2 separate regions of the Homo sapiens genome follow, and region 1 is linked to region 2. Evidence: promoter capture Hi-C in human tissues and cell types (Jung and others, 2019). All regions are on one chromosome and are shown on one strand. Each heading gives the region's core, a stretch centred on a gene start or on the middle of the fragment in contact. The rest is flanking DNA. Distances are from core to core; before and after follow the strand shown. Region 1 overlaps EIF4G3 (eukaryotic translation initiation factor 4 gamma 3). Region 2 holds the start of EIF4G3 (eukaryotic translation initiation factor 4 gamma 3).

Evidence for each region. Contacts are between HindIII fragments. The study calls those that stand out against the background at their distance.
Region 1: a contact is called between a fragment that was not itself captured here and the fragment with the promoter of EIF4G3 in region 2, in 1 of the 25 tissues and cell types used here (stomach).

What each region holds. Positions count from the first base shown.
Region 1 is chr1:21,139,770-21,147,306 of GRCh38, forward strand. All of the region lies in intron 2 of EIF4G3 (eukaryotic translation initiation factor 4 gamma 3), which reads right to left. Among named protein-coding and RNA genes, the nearest start is that of EIF4G3, 33 kb to the right of the region's middle. The HindIII fragment of the contact is 7,294 bases long and covers 401-7,537 here.
Region 2 is chr1:21,172,648-21,179,341 of GRCh38, forward strand. It overlaps EIF4G3 (eukaryotic translation initiation factor 4 gamma 3), which reads right to left and starts at 4,250. Exons shown (of 37, transcript NM_001391906.1): 1 at 4,075-4,250; 2 at 3,528-3,711. RefSeq lists an enhancer at 4,165-4,214. The HindIII fragment of the contact is 22,917 bases long and covers 1-6,694 here.

The DNA of each region.
Region 1 (7,537 bases), core at 2,798-5,297, 33 kb before region 2:
CACAAAAGACAGCCCTGAACACCTGGCCTCAAGCCAAACTCCTGCTTCAGCCTCCCGAGTAGCTAGGACTACAGGCCCACACTGGTCTATATAATTTAAACTACAAAACTGATTCCAACAGCTAGCACTGAGTACAACTATCCTAGCCTTACCCCATCCCTAGAATTATCCTGATTAAGACAGTATTTTCTTCCATTAGAAAAAAATGTAAAGGATTCCTTACTTGGGTCACCCAAGTCTAATGAAAATATTAACTAACTTTGCTCAGTGATTTAAAAAGTTAGCAAGCATTTCCCACATTCTTAAAAACCTTCTCCAGATTTGGTTGAGGCTGTCTTCTCTCTGTAACAGTATGTCATAATGTGTCTTTCTCAGGAAAATACAGTATTCTCTAGACATTTGTGGATAACCAACACAATAACAAAATCATCATGAAACTGATTTTCCAATTGCAAAGAAGGCAATAACCTACAGAAAAAACAGAATAGGAACAATAAAATGTTCTTCCTTTCACTAAAATTGAAGGTCCCAGTAGCATGGGCAAATTTTTTTTTTCTTTTTTGAGACAGAGTCTTGCTCTACTGCCCAGGCTGGAGTGCAGTAGCGTGATCTCAGCTCACAGCAACCTCAGCCTCCTGGGTTCAAGTGGGCCTCCCGCCTCAGCCCCCTAAATAGCTGGGACTACAGGAATGCACCACCATGCATGGCTAATTTCTGTATTTTTATTAGAGATGGGGTTTCACCATATGCCCAGACTGGTCTTGAACTGGCCTCATTTGATCCGCCTGCCTTGGCCTCCCAAAGTGCTGGGATTATAGGCGTGAGCCACCACACCTGGCCTTGGCAAAATTATTTATGCAGCAGGTTATAAAAAGATAAAATTAAAGTAAGCAGTTTTCAGCAATGGCTGATGTGAAGACTACTATTTGAAAACAAGACTATATTGTAAAAACTATACAAAATAGAACCTGAGAAAAGCAGACATATCCAGGGTTAGGAATGAAAAGCAGTTAATTACTTCCCTATTTTATAAACACTTTGAAGCTTCAATTACGTTCTTCACTGAAGGAACTAAGAGCAAAATAAGACTTGTTACCAGTTACTAAAATAAAAACCATCACTTTGAAAACATCTAAGGGAAAAATAACGTGTTCTAAAATAAAGTTTTCTGCACATCAATTTGAGAATGACTTAATGAATGTGATAAATCCGTAACATATATATTTTTTAAATGAGAAAATTATATTATAATCATTACATTACAGTTTATATTTATTCAGCTAAATATCTTGAACCAACTGTTCTAAGAACTTCACAAGTTAATGTTAACCCTCAAAAAAATCCTAGGAACAATTATAATTCCCATATTTCAAAATAGAAAACCCCAGTGCACAGCAGCAATGCAGTCTGCCCAAGGTCATACTACATAAACGAAGAGGTGTCAACCAACTCCAACTGGGGCTCTTAACCACTCACCAAACTGTTTCTCTTTCTGTGCCATGTTACAGAAGAATCTACAACACACTGAATGAAGAAGAAATGCTGTGGGATAGCATGTGTGTTTGAATTGAACATTACCATTTCTATTTGAGAAAAATATTTTTTCTTTGTGTGTGTGTGTGTGTGTGTATGTGTAGTTCTATGTAAAAAAAAAAAGTGTGAGAAAGATTTTTATTTCAAAAGAACTTTTGTATTTTTTTCCTACCAAGAGAAAAAAAAAAAAAAAACAAGATCCTGCTTACTTAGTAATTACAACACTACAGTATGTTTTCTATTTTACATTAAGAAAGTGAAGAAACAAGACAAAAAACAGATCCAACCCTGTAGGAGAGAAATGGTGCAGGGAATAGAAAAATGTTTTTAAAATTTTCTAATTAGGCCAGAAACAGTGGCTCATGCCTGTTATCCCAACACTTTGGGAAGCCAAGACAGGAAGATCGTTTGAACCTAGGAGTTCAAGACTAGCCTGGACAACATAGTGAGACCCTGACTCTACCAAAAATTTTTATAACTTAGTCAGCCGTGGTAGTGTGGGCCTGTAGTCCCAGCTACTAGAGAGGTTGAAGGGGAAGAATCGCTTGAGCCTGGGAAATCGACGCTGCAGTGAGCTGTGATTATGCCACCACGCTCCATCCAACCTGTGCAACAGAGCAAGACCCTGTCTCCAAAAAAAAAAACAAAATGCTAATCAGTACCACCCAAAGATTCAAGATAATATTTCCCTAATTTTGTTATAAAGAGAATTTAGCGTGGCACACTGGCATGTGCCTATAATCTCAGTCATTTCCAAAAAAATGGAGATAGATATGTATTACTGAAACATAAAGCTACTCAGGAGGCTGAGGTGGGAGGATCACTTGAGTCCAGGCATTTAAGGCCAGCCTAGGCAACACAGTTAGACCTCACCTCAGGGAAAAAACATGTATTAGGAATCTAAAAGTGGCTAATGGTCAGGCATAATGGCTCATGCCTGTAATCCCAGCATTTTGGGAGGTTGCGGTGGGTGGACTGCTTGAGCCCAGGAGTTTGAGACCAGCCTGGGCAACATGATGAAACCCCCACTCTACAAAAAAAAAAAATACAAAAATTAGCCAGTGTGGTGCACCATGTGCCTGCAGTCCCAGCTACTCAGGAGGCTGAGGTAGGAGGATCGCTTGAGCCTGGATGGTGGAAGTTGCAGTGAGTTGAGATCGTACAACCGTACTCCAGCCTAAGTGACAGAGTGAGACCCTAGCTCCCCAAAAATTAAATTTTTTTTAAGTGGCTAACTAGAATACATGCAACAAAGCAAAATAATACAAAGTAAATACAAACAAAAATGAAGAAAAACAATAAAGATCTAAATGGAATCAGGAACCAAACCATTTAAAACTCATAATAGCTAACACTTAATTTCCACAACCTTTTTACCCACTTCATACTCTGACATACTTCCCTTCATACATTTTGATCTGCTTCTATAATTTATCCCCAAAAATATCCATTCAAGTAAAAGAAGCTGTATAAAAATGTTGAGTGCAGCATGGTTCATAATATAAGAAAAACAGAAATAACTCAAGTAGATTAGAAAGAATTGCATAAAAATAAATTAAGCAGCATCCATAAGTAATTCTAGTCATTTCCAAAAAATGGAAATAGATATCTATTACTGAAACATAAAACTGTTACTAAAGAAATTACATTAAAAAGAAAAAATAGGCCAAATGTGGTGGCTCATGCCTGTAATCCCAGCACTCTGGGAGGCCGAGACAGGCAGATCACTTGAGGTTAGGAGTTCAAGACCAGCCTGACCAACATGATGAAACCCTGTCTCTACTAAAAATACAAAAATTAGCTAGGTGTGGTGGTGGGTGCCTGTAATCCCAGCTACTAGGGAGGTTGAGGCTGGAGAATAACTTGAACCTGGGAGGCAGAGGTTGCAGTGAGCCGATATTGCGCCACTGTACTCAAGCCTGGGCGACAAAGTGAGAATTCGTCAAGAAAGAAAGGAAAAAAATAAAGGAGAGGAGGGGAGGGGAGAGAGAAAGAGAGACAAAGAAAGAAAGAGAAAGGAGAGCAAAGGAAAGGAAGAAGGAGAAGAAGGAGAAAGAGAAGGAAAGGAAAGGAAAGGGGAAAAGGAAAAGAAAGAAAACTATAAAAGGATAACTAAGAAAGAATACTATAAAACAGTATACAACATTTTAGTTAAAATTTAAAATGCTGTAATGGGCATAGAAAGTCTGGAGAAAGACTTCAAACAGTTAACCAAGGAGGTGTGCAACTACAGGGAATTCCATTTACTAACGTTATGTCTATAATGTACAGTAAGATACATTTATTTCTTCTGTAGCACAAAATAAATTTCATTATAATGAACAAATTATTAAACATACAAAATATTTTTCAAAAATTTTTATTTATACACTTTGGGAGGCCGAGGTGGGCAAATCACTTGAGGCCAGGAGTTTGGGACCAGGCTGGCCAACATGGCAAAACCCCATCTCTACTAAAAATATTTTTTAAATTACCTGGGTGTGGTGGCATGTGCCTGTAGTCCCAGCTACGCAGGAGGCTGAGGCACCAGAATCACTTGAACCCAGGAGGTGGAGGCTGCCATAAGTCAAGATCATGCCACCGCACTCCAGCCTGGGTGACAGAGCATGACTCTGTCTCCAAAAAAAGAAAAAACTTATTTATAAAAGAAATGAGGTCTCCCTAAGTTGCCCTGGCTGGTTTCCAACTCCTGGTCTCAAGGTTCATAGGCATGAGACACTATGCCAGACCCAAAATATTTTTTAAGAAAGCAAATAACTAAATGAAGCAATTTCATGTTTTTTGCCCCCTTGGCTTCTATTTTTTTGGTGCAAGCAATGTCATGTTTTAAGAGAGCTCTGATAGTCCAAATAGAGCTCCAAAAATTAATTCCAAGTATCTATGGGTAATCTTTGGGAGATAACATCCCTCCCATAACAATAACAGTTATCAGTTATCTGCTTCAATCTATTTATTTATTTATTTTGGAGACAGAGTCTCACTGTTGTGCAGGCTAAAGTGCGCTGGCACAATCATAACTCATTCTAGCCTCAATCTTGAGGGATCCCCTTGAGGGAGCCTCCCACCTCAGCTCTTTGAGCAGCTAGGACTATAAACTAACACTACAGCAGCACACCCATCTTTTTTTTTTTTTTCGTAGAGATGGGGTCTCGCTGTGTTGCCTAGGCTGGTCTCAAACTCCTGGCCTCAAGCAATCCTTCCACCTTGGCCTCCCAAAGTGCTAGACTTACAGGCATGAGCCACTGGTTCCTGACCCTGCTTCAATCATTTTTATGGATGAAATACAACAGAACTCTTAAGAAATAAAAGCACCTTGGTACACTCTGAATAGTAGACAGGTTTAACAATGTTAAACTGAGCCTAAATAGTAAAATGGCTTTGTCTCAGGTCATAAAGTAAATTTTAATAGATTATAATAAACCACTGAAAGACAAAGAATGAGTCCCATCTTTCAAAAAGCCCACGAAGGTGCATTTTACCAGGCCAGATTTCTTTCTCATAAGCTTTCTACCTCCTAATCCTTGAAATAGAGGGTTCTCAAACTATGCAGATCTTGGTCACTAATATCAACACAGCAGAACACTAGAAGAGGTAACGCACGTACTGATAAGCATGTGCCTTGTTAAATAGTCTAATTCTCCAGAAAATGATTTTTGTTTTCTGCTAGCTAGAGTAATAACAGCATTGTTTCTTGGCCAGGCATGGTGGCTCATGCCTGTAATTCTAGCACTTTGGGAAGCCAAGGTGGGAGGACTGCTTGAGGCCAGGAGTTAAGAGACCAGCCTGGGCAACATAGCAAGAAAAAAAAAATTATGCCATTATTTCTTGAGTACCAACCATATCTGTATCAGTGTATTTAGTATTTTGCATGGAGGGCTCATGTAATCCTCAGTACAACTTGTAAGGTATCATCAACTCTCTCATATAGACAAGGAAACCAAGTTCCAAAATGTTACATTAAGAGAATTGCCAAAGATGACATGACTACTTCTAGTAGAATCAGAGCTAAAAAACAAAACAAAACAAACAAACAAAAAAAACCCTAGGGTTTAACTCTCAAGTTTTGCTCTATCTTCTAAAACCAATGATCCGGACCAACATACCTCTTAAAAGTGTCCAGTTTATTTTATGCCTTTTTTTTTTTTAAGAGACAGGTTCTCACTATGTTTCCCAGGCTGGTCTCAAACACGTAGCCTCAAAGGATACTCCCACTCAGGCCCCTGACTCAGTGGGATTACTGGTTTGAGTCACCCCACCTAGCTATGCTACGTGTTTTATCAAATGGAATTCATTTGAAACAAAATTAAAAACTTATATACATTGTGATTTCCCTTAAAGAAAACATAAATATTCAAGTGTGAATGGTAAAGTCTCACCAAAACCATTCAGTTATCTAGTAGTCAATGTTAGGAATAAAATTTGGTTACTTACAAATCTCTATGGCAAAATCTAGCCAATATCACAAAATTCTCAAAGGCTAAAAATTACAGTAAATGGGCTGGGTGTAGTGGCTCATATCTGCAATCCCAGTGCTTTGGGAGGCCACCACAGGAGGATCATTGAGGCCAAATGTTTGAGACCAGCCTGGGCAACACAGCAAGACCTCATCTCTACAAAAAACATTTTTAAATTTTTTTTTTAATTAGCTGATTGTGGTGGGCACAGGACTGTAGTCCTAGCTACACAAAAAGCTGAGGCAGGAGGATCAACTCAGCCCAGGAGTTCGAGGCTGTAGTGAGCCAAGATTGTGCCACTACACTCCAGCCTGGGAAACACAGCAAGACCCTGTCTCCAAAACTAAAAAAAATTGAGGAGTAGAGGTTGGAGGATTACTTGAGCCCAGGAATCGCAGACCAGTCTGAGCAACATAGTGAGACCCAGTCTCTACAAAAAAATGTTTTTAATTAGCCAGGCATAGGGGTGTGCACCTGTAGTCCTAGCTAATTGGGAGGCTGAGGCAGGAAAATCGCTTGAGCCCATGAGGTTGAAGCTGAAAGCTGAGGTGAGCCATGGCTACACCACTGAATTCCTGCCTGGGCAATACAGCAAGACCCTGTCTCAAAAACTTTAAAGTACAGTAAATGAAGGGCAAACATATGGCTATTAACAGTTAATTTCAATAACTAATGACATACAAATCAGAAAGGCAATTTTATATTTAAAAAATATTAAAATTGGCTGGGCGGGGTGGCTCACACCTGTAATCCCAGCACTTTGGGAGGCCAAAGCAGGTGAATCAGCTGAGGTCAGGAGTTCAAGACCAGCCTAGCAACATGGCCAGTCTCTACTAAAAAATACAAAAAAATTAACCGGGCATGGTGGTGGCCACCTGTAATCCCAGCTACTAGGGAAGCTGAGGAAGGAGAACCACTTGAACCCAGGAGGTGGAGGTTGCAGTGAGCCAAGATCATGCCATTGCACTCCCGCCTGGACAACAAGAGCAAAACTCCATCTCAAAAATAAATAAATAAATAAAATTACATATTATATGGTGACAATAGCAATTCAATAACTGGAATAAGAAAAATTAATAGTCACAAGGAGCTTTTCATTTCACACAAGAAAGTCTATAAAATACTACTAGTATCAATGCAATAATTGTAATAAAAGGCAAACCTGAACTCTTCAAAAGCTAGTAAGTTACCTAAAGATATAGTTGTTTCAGAAATTTCAGGATTTGGGCGGGTCAGTGGCTCCCGCTTATAACCCCAGCACTTTGGGAGGCTGAGGCGGGCAGATCACGAGGTCAGGAGTTCAAGACCAGCCTGGCCAACATACTGAAACCCCATTTCTACTAAAAATACAAAAAACTAGCCAGGCATGGTGGCAGACACCTGTAATCCCAGCTACTCAGGAGGCTGAGGCAGAAGAATCTCTTGAACCCGGGAGGCGGAGGTTGCAGTGAGCCAAGATCGTGCCACTGCACTCCAGCCTGGAGACAGAGCAAGACTCCATCTCAATAAATAAATAAATAAATCTATATAATTTGTATTATTTATAAAAC
Region 2 (6,694 bases), core at 3,000-5,499:
ACGCCATTCTCCTGCCTCAGCCTACCAAGTAGCTGGGACTACAGGCGCCTGCCACCACGCCTGGCTAATTTTATGTATTTTTAGTAGAGACGGGGTTTCACCGTGTTAGCCAGGATGGTCTCGATCTCCTGATCTCATGATCTGCCCACCTCGGCCTCCCAAAGTGCTGGGATTACAGGAATCCTCTCCATTGACTTAAGATGTGGTTCTCGGCCGGGTGCAGTGGCTCACGCCTGTAATCCCAGCACTTTGGGAGGTAGAAGCAGGCGGATCACAAGGTCAGGAGATCAAGACCATCCTGGCCAACACAGTGAAACCCCGTCTCTACTAAAATACAAAAAATTAGCCAGGCATGGTGGCGCACACCTGTAGTCCCAACTACTCAGGAGGCTGAGGTAGGGGAATCGTTTGAACCCAAGAGGCGGAGGTTGCAGTGAGCCAAGATCATGCCACTATACTCCAGCCTGGCAACAGAGCGAGACTCAATCTCAAAAAAAAAAAAAAAAAAAAAAAAAAAAGACGTGGGTTCCAAACATTTTCTAGAAGACCTTTGATTTTGTTTTTTTTGAGGTGGAGTCTCACTCTGTAACCCAGGCTGGAGCGCAGTGGTGCAGTCTCGGCTCATTGCAACTTCTGCCTCGTGGGTTCAAGCGATTCTCCTGCCTTGGCCTCCTGAGTAGCTGAAATTACAGGCAGGCGCCACCACGCCCGGCTAATTTTTGTACTTTTAGTAGAGACCAGGTTTCACCAGATCAGGGCCAGGTGCGGTGGCTCAATGCCTGTAATCCCAGCACTTTGGGAGGCTGAGGCAGGCGGATCACCTGAAGCCAGGAGTTCGAGACCAGCCTGGTCAACATGGTGAAACCCAGTCTGATCACGCCTTACAAAAAATTACCTGGACCTGGTGGCACACGCCTGTAATCCCAGCTACTCAGGAGGCTGAGGCATGAGAATGGCTGGAATCCAGCCGGCGTAGGTTGCAGTGAGCCGAGATTACACCACTGCACTCCAGCCTGGGCGACAAAGCAAGACTCTGTCTCAAAAATAAATAAATAAAACTGTCTGAACTTATTAATTCAATGCAAACACAACTATACCCACATACTTTGAGGGTCTGGAGATCTATTCAAGCCATGAACAGTGCTAACTCCAGCTATGCACTCCTGCCAAGATGCTTAAATGTTATCCACTTATTGAACAATGACCACTTGCGTCAAATACAAATTCCCATACTCCCTCAGGGTAGAAAAGTAGAACTGCTCTATTTCAATCCTTTTTTAATCAATACCCCATTACCAGTTGATAACACTTCACCACTGGTATGTCTGATGAAATCTACAACCTATACTTCCTTTACTGTTTATATAATAAAATTTTCTATTTTAGCAATTGTAACCTTTCAGTGTGTAAAAGCAAAGAGAAAACAATAAGAGCTGTGAAACACATCAAGAGGAAGATTAATTTTAGCTTCAATGGCATGAGGCAAAGTAAAAACTTAAAGCCACACAAAAGTAAGTGTTCCATATGACTAAAATTGGTTTAAAATTATCTACACTGGAACTTACACTTAAATTTATCTCTTTAACAAGTGCTTTTTATTCAAAAGAAAATTAAGTTTCAGCTTTTGTAACTACTTGAATGTTGCAACCAACTCAGAGCTTTTATAAGTCCTTCTATGAAATGCACTGAGAAAAAGCATACTTGAAACACAGCTGTATCCCAAAAAGCCACCCAATTCACCAAACAGTGTCACATTCAGCACTGTGGTCCTTACTACTCTGTACATCAAGGACACCTACTACAGGTTTCCTTTTATTTCTGTTCAATTGCCAAAACAGCTCAAAGATGCAGGTAATGAGTAATTTACGTGGTAGCACAATTCAGAAACTTAAAAGTCCTAACCGAGTATAGGCAATCAAGGTAAAAAATGAAATTAGAAAGGAATTTAAACTCACAAAGTAGTAAGCAAAGACAGGTTTAAAAGATTCAACACTGAACTCTGCCTTTAAGTAGGCAAACCAGCCAATCTTCCCCCACCCCAGAGACACTGAACAAAACCAACCAGGTTTTCCATAAGCAACGCTAAGTTATCACCACACTTTCTCATCGGTGAACAATTCCTAATTGAACAGAATCATGCAGGATAAAAACATTATGAAATCAGTACACACGTCACACTGGAATGGAATTTATCTTTACACTGCACCGCGGTGCCTGGATTGAAAATCACGAACTAGGTTTAAAGAACAGAGAAAATGACACTTGGCAGAAAACAAACAATGACCTGAAATGACTCTAGAAGGGAGATTGCTTTCCCTTCTCAAAGTAATCTATACAGACAAGAATCAAACTACAGACTGTGAAATAATCTGGGGACCTCACAGCAGTTAGCTTCTTACTTGCTCAAACATCCTACAATCTCTAAAAGTCAAACGCACGATGACACAAACATAAAAACACAACACATCTAACATCCAATCATTATTTATTGATTTACACAAATACAGTGGGTGTAGGGAGGAGGTGATGCATGATGAAATGTTATTCTCAGGTACGCAATACCTTTCTAAATCTCCGTGGAATACATGAATTCAACGTTTTACCTTCACCGGCTAGTTTTTGACTAAAATACCCCATCACCAAGTCTTTTCAATCAAAGCTCTCCAAAATTCTACAATCGAGCAAATAACATGAAATTAGAAACATTCAATACTAGACTTTCCTCCAGAAGCCCTGGTAACTCTCTAGACATCAGGCCTATGAGGAGTAAATTAAAGCCCATTAAAAATATTCAGCCTAACACAAATCTTCCAAGAAGTGAGACTTTTGTGGGTGATGGGTAATGTCGGTGAACTTCCTCTTCCTTTAAAAAGGTCAAAGACAGGGAAGCGTCCGGCGTCACATTTCCTCCTCAGATCTCTACCACAAACCACATCACAACTCTCCCATTACTAAAAAAAATTATCCAGAGGAACTGCTTTCTGTACATTTTCACCTTAGACTGAAAATCCAACATACCTCGGAAACGAGCTGATTGGTTTCAAACAAGAAATTTACCGATAAAGTTTATTATGTACTAATAATAATTATGGAAGCCCACTGTGTCCCGCTGTAGGGGGAGCCGAGGGGAGGTGAAGAGCAGGAGGGTGTAATCCTCACAACAACCAGAGAAAAGCCTTCCCTGCAGGGTTGGTCCCAGGCACCAAGCAAATTCTGCCCAATAAAGGGGGGGAGGGTACCTTAGGGGAGGAGGGGAGAAGGGACCCCAAGCTCTAAAAGGAAGGGGCTGCAGAAGCATGGCCAAGTGGGGCTAGCTTTCACAGTATTGCAGAGGGTCTGGGGGTCCCCCCGCAGTGCTGCTGCCGGGGCACCCCAAAAGCTCCGCCCAAGCCCGATGCAGGGGCTTGAGCCGCTGTCCCTTTCCTGGCTGGGCTGTGGCGGCCGGCAGGAGGGTCCCCTGGGCTGCGGGGTCCCCCTGGACTGCGACGACGAGAACCGAAGGGCCGACAGGAAGGTGAAAAGGATACTGTTGGGGCGCCTGAGTCTGGAGGGCCCTGATGTTCGGGTGAGGAGGGGGGACCGCTGCCGCCGCCGCCGCCGCCGCCGCCGCCGCCGCCGCTGCTGCCGCCGCCGGGTGAGGAGGCGGTACCGCTGCTGCCGCCGCCGCCGCCGCTCCGGTGCCGGGTCCGGTTCCTGCTGCAGTCGCTGTGCCTGATTTCAGAGCCGGTTTCTGCGGTAAACTCATGGCAAAGCGAAGCCACCAACCCCCCCAGAGCGGGACCGGGCGCGCCGGGGTGCAGGGGCCGGGGGCAGCGGGGGGGCGGGATGGGGGCAGACCCGGGGAGGCGGCGGGAGCGGGGGGCTGGGGGGAGCCTGGGGGGAGGAGGAGGAGGGGGCCGGGGCCGGTCACACACGCCCGACGCCGCCGCCGCCGCCGCCGCCGCCTCCGCCGCCGCCGCCGCCGGCAGCAGCAGCCGCCCCGCGGGCCAGCACCACCGGCTGCCGGTCTCCGTGACAACGCGACCCCAGGGGGGGGGCCGGACCCGGCGGGGGCAGGAGGCGGAGAGACCGGACCTTTCACGGCAATATCCTCATGGGCCGGCGGCGGGGGATCTTTATCCCCCTCCCCGGAGGAAGCGGCGCCCTTCTCGGTAGCGGGGCTCAGGCGATGCCGGTGGATTTTCTTCACTCAACGAGCAGAGCATCCAACATGGCGCTGTGGCCGCCTCCAGCAGTCCGGCAGGACGGCTGCTCGGAAAACTTCGGACTTTTTCGGAATGGCTCGGGAAACCGAGGGTGGGAAGCCTCTTCGGCTCTTTCCGGAGACTGCTAGGGGTCGGGATTCTTCGGAGACGCTCGGGTGCGTCCTCGGCCGCCGTTCGGGAGGGCTCAGGGGCTAACTCGCTTCCTCGGCAAAGATCGGCGAGGGAGGCTTCGCTGGCTTACAGCGGCGCGGGTGCGGGGCGGAGGGAAAGACCAAAGGCGAGGTCTGGCTTGCGAGAGTCCTCCCCTGCGGCCCAGCCTCGAAGAACAATGGTAATGGCCCCGGAGTCGGCTGTTCGCTGAGCCCCGCTCGCAGGGGCGGAGAGGCAGCGGCGAGGCGAAAAACCCCTGGAGAAGGAACCGCTTAACCGGAATGGAACCCGTTGGATAGGGACCCCCCGCGGGGACTTCGCGTAACCAATGCCACCCGCCGGCCTGTAACCCACGCATTTCACACCCATTGTGTCGACACTTCCTCAGACGCTCTGAGAGGTGAATGAGGAGCCCCATTTCCAGAGGACACAGAGGAAAAGTGACTAGCCCAAGGTCACCCTATCGGGAAAGGACAGAGCCTAAATCTAAATGCCACCTTCATCTGGATGAACCTTGCCGCCTCCCATATTGGCTGGGGACATGACCTGAGCCGCCATATCTAATCAGCAGCCTTAACTGAGCTCTGTGGATGGATTCAAACCTAGGCCTTCCCCAGGACTGGAGCGCCCTTTGACCAGCAGCCAGTGATCAGCTCCCCAATGTCCTATGCTGGGTGACATTTGTTGATAAGGATTTTCTTCCCAGCTAGACCTGCCAAGATCACTCCCACCCCCAACCCCGCACACCCCACTCCTTAGCAGGTGCCTTGTCCTAAGCACAGTGGCATTGAGTGGGAAAGAATGGCAGGCATCGGCCGGGCGCGGTGGCTCACGCCTGTAATCCCAGCACTTTGGGAGGCCAAGGCCGGTGGATCACTTGAGGTCAGGAGTTCAAGACCAGCCTTGCCAACATGATGAAACCTCGTCTCTACTAAAAATACAAAAATTAGCCAGGCGTGGTGGCAGGCACCAGCTACTCGGGAGGCTGAGGCGGGAGAATCACTTGAACCCAGGAGGCGGAGGTTGCAGTGAGCTGAGAGAGTGCCATTGCACACTAGCCTGGGCGCGACAGAGTGAGGCTTCGTCTCAAAAAAAAAAAAAAAATGGCAGGCGTCATGGAGCAATCAAGTTTTAATATAATATTTACCAGACATGGCACTAAGCGCTGTACCCTTCATTATCTCAAGCAGTCCTGTGAAATAGGTAGTATCCATTTTACAAATGAATAAACTGAGACTGGGGAGGCTCAATACCATCAAACCACAGAAAAGCTGAGAAAATTGAGGCTCAAAACGCACAAAAGACTTCCCCGAGGTCGCACCGACAGTGTGGCTGGCAGAGCTAAGATTAGAGTCTAGTTCTGACTCCTGCTATCCTGCTTCACACACTGCCTTACTATTTTGTTGTTGCTGTTTTTTGAGACGGAGTTTCGCTCTTGTTGCCCAGGCTGGAGTGCAATGGCACGATCTCGGCTCACGGAAACCTCCGCCTCCCATGTTCAAGCGATTCTCTTGCCTCAGCCTCCCGAGTAGCTGGGATTAGAGGCATGCGCTACCACGCCTGGCTAATTTTGTACTTTTAGTAGAGACGGTGATTCTCCATGTTGGTCAGTCTGGTCTCAAACTCCCAACCTCAGGTGATCTGCCTGCCTCGGCCTCCCAAAGTGCTGGGATTACAGGCGTGAGCCACCGCGCCTGGCCTATTGTTGTTTTTAATTCATATAAAGCTCTACACATAGTGGATGCTTAATTCGTGACAATCCCTGGGAGCCCCAAATGCTCCTTCTAGGATAAAAGAGCATCTGAAAGAGAGTGATACCACAACCCCCCTACGGCGTCTTTCTAGCTAGAGCTCCACAGTTTCTGACATTGAAAAGGATGCCTCATCCCCATCTCCAGACTGGAAGACAGCAGCTACTTCATACTGTGGCATCTTAAACTGTCTGGATTTGTAACACCTGATTTTTTTATTTATTTATTTTTTTTTTTGAGACAGTCTCGTTCTGTCGCCCAGGCTGGAGTGCAGTGGCGCAATCTTGGCTCGCTGCAAGTTCTGCCTCCTGGGTTCACGCCATTCTCCTGCCTCAGTCTCCCAAGTAGCTGGGACTACAGGCACCTGCCACCGTGCCCGGCTGATTTTTTTTCTCTTTTTGTATTTTTGGTAGAGATGGGGTTTCACTGTGTTGGCCAGGATGGCCTCGATCTCCTGACCTCGTGATCCGCCCGCCTTGGCCTCCCAAAGTGCTGGGATTACAGGCGTGAGCCACCATGCCCGGCCTGTAACACCTGATTATTTAGGATGGGATTTTCTGCTCCTCTCCACATATAATTGACTCCAGG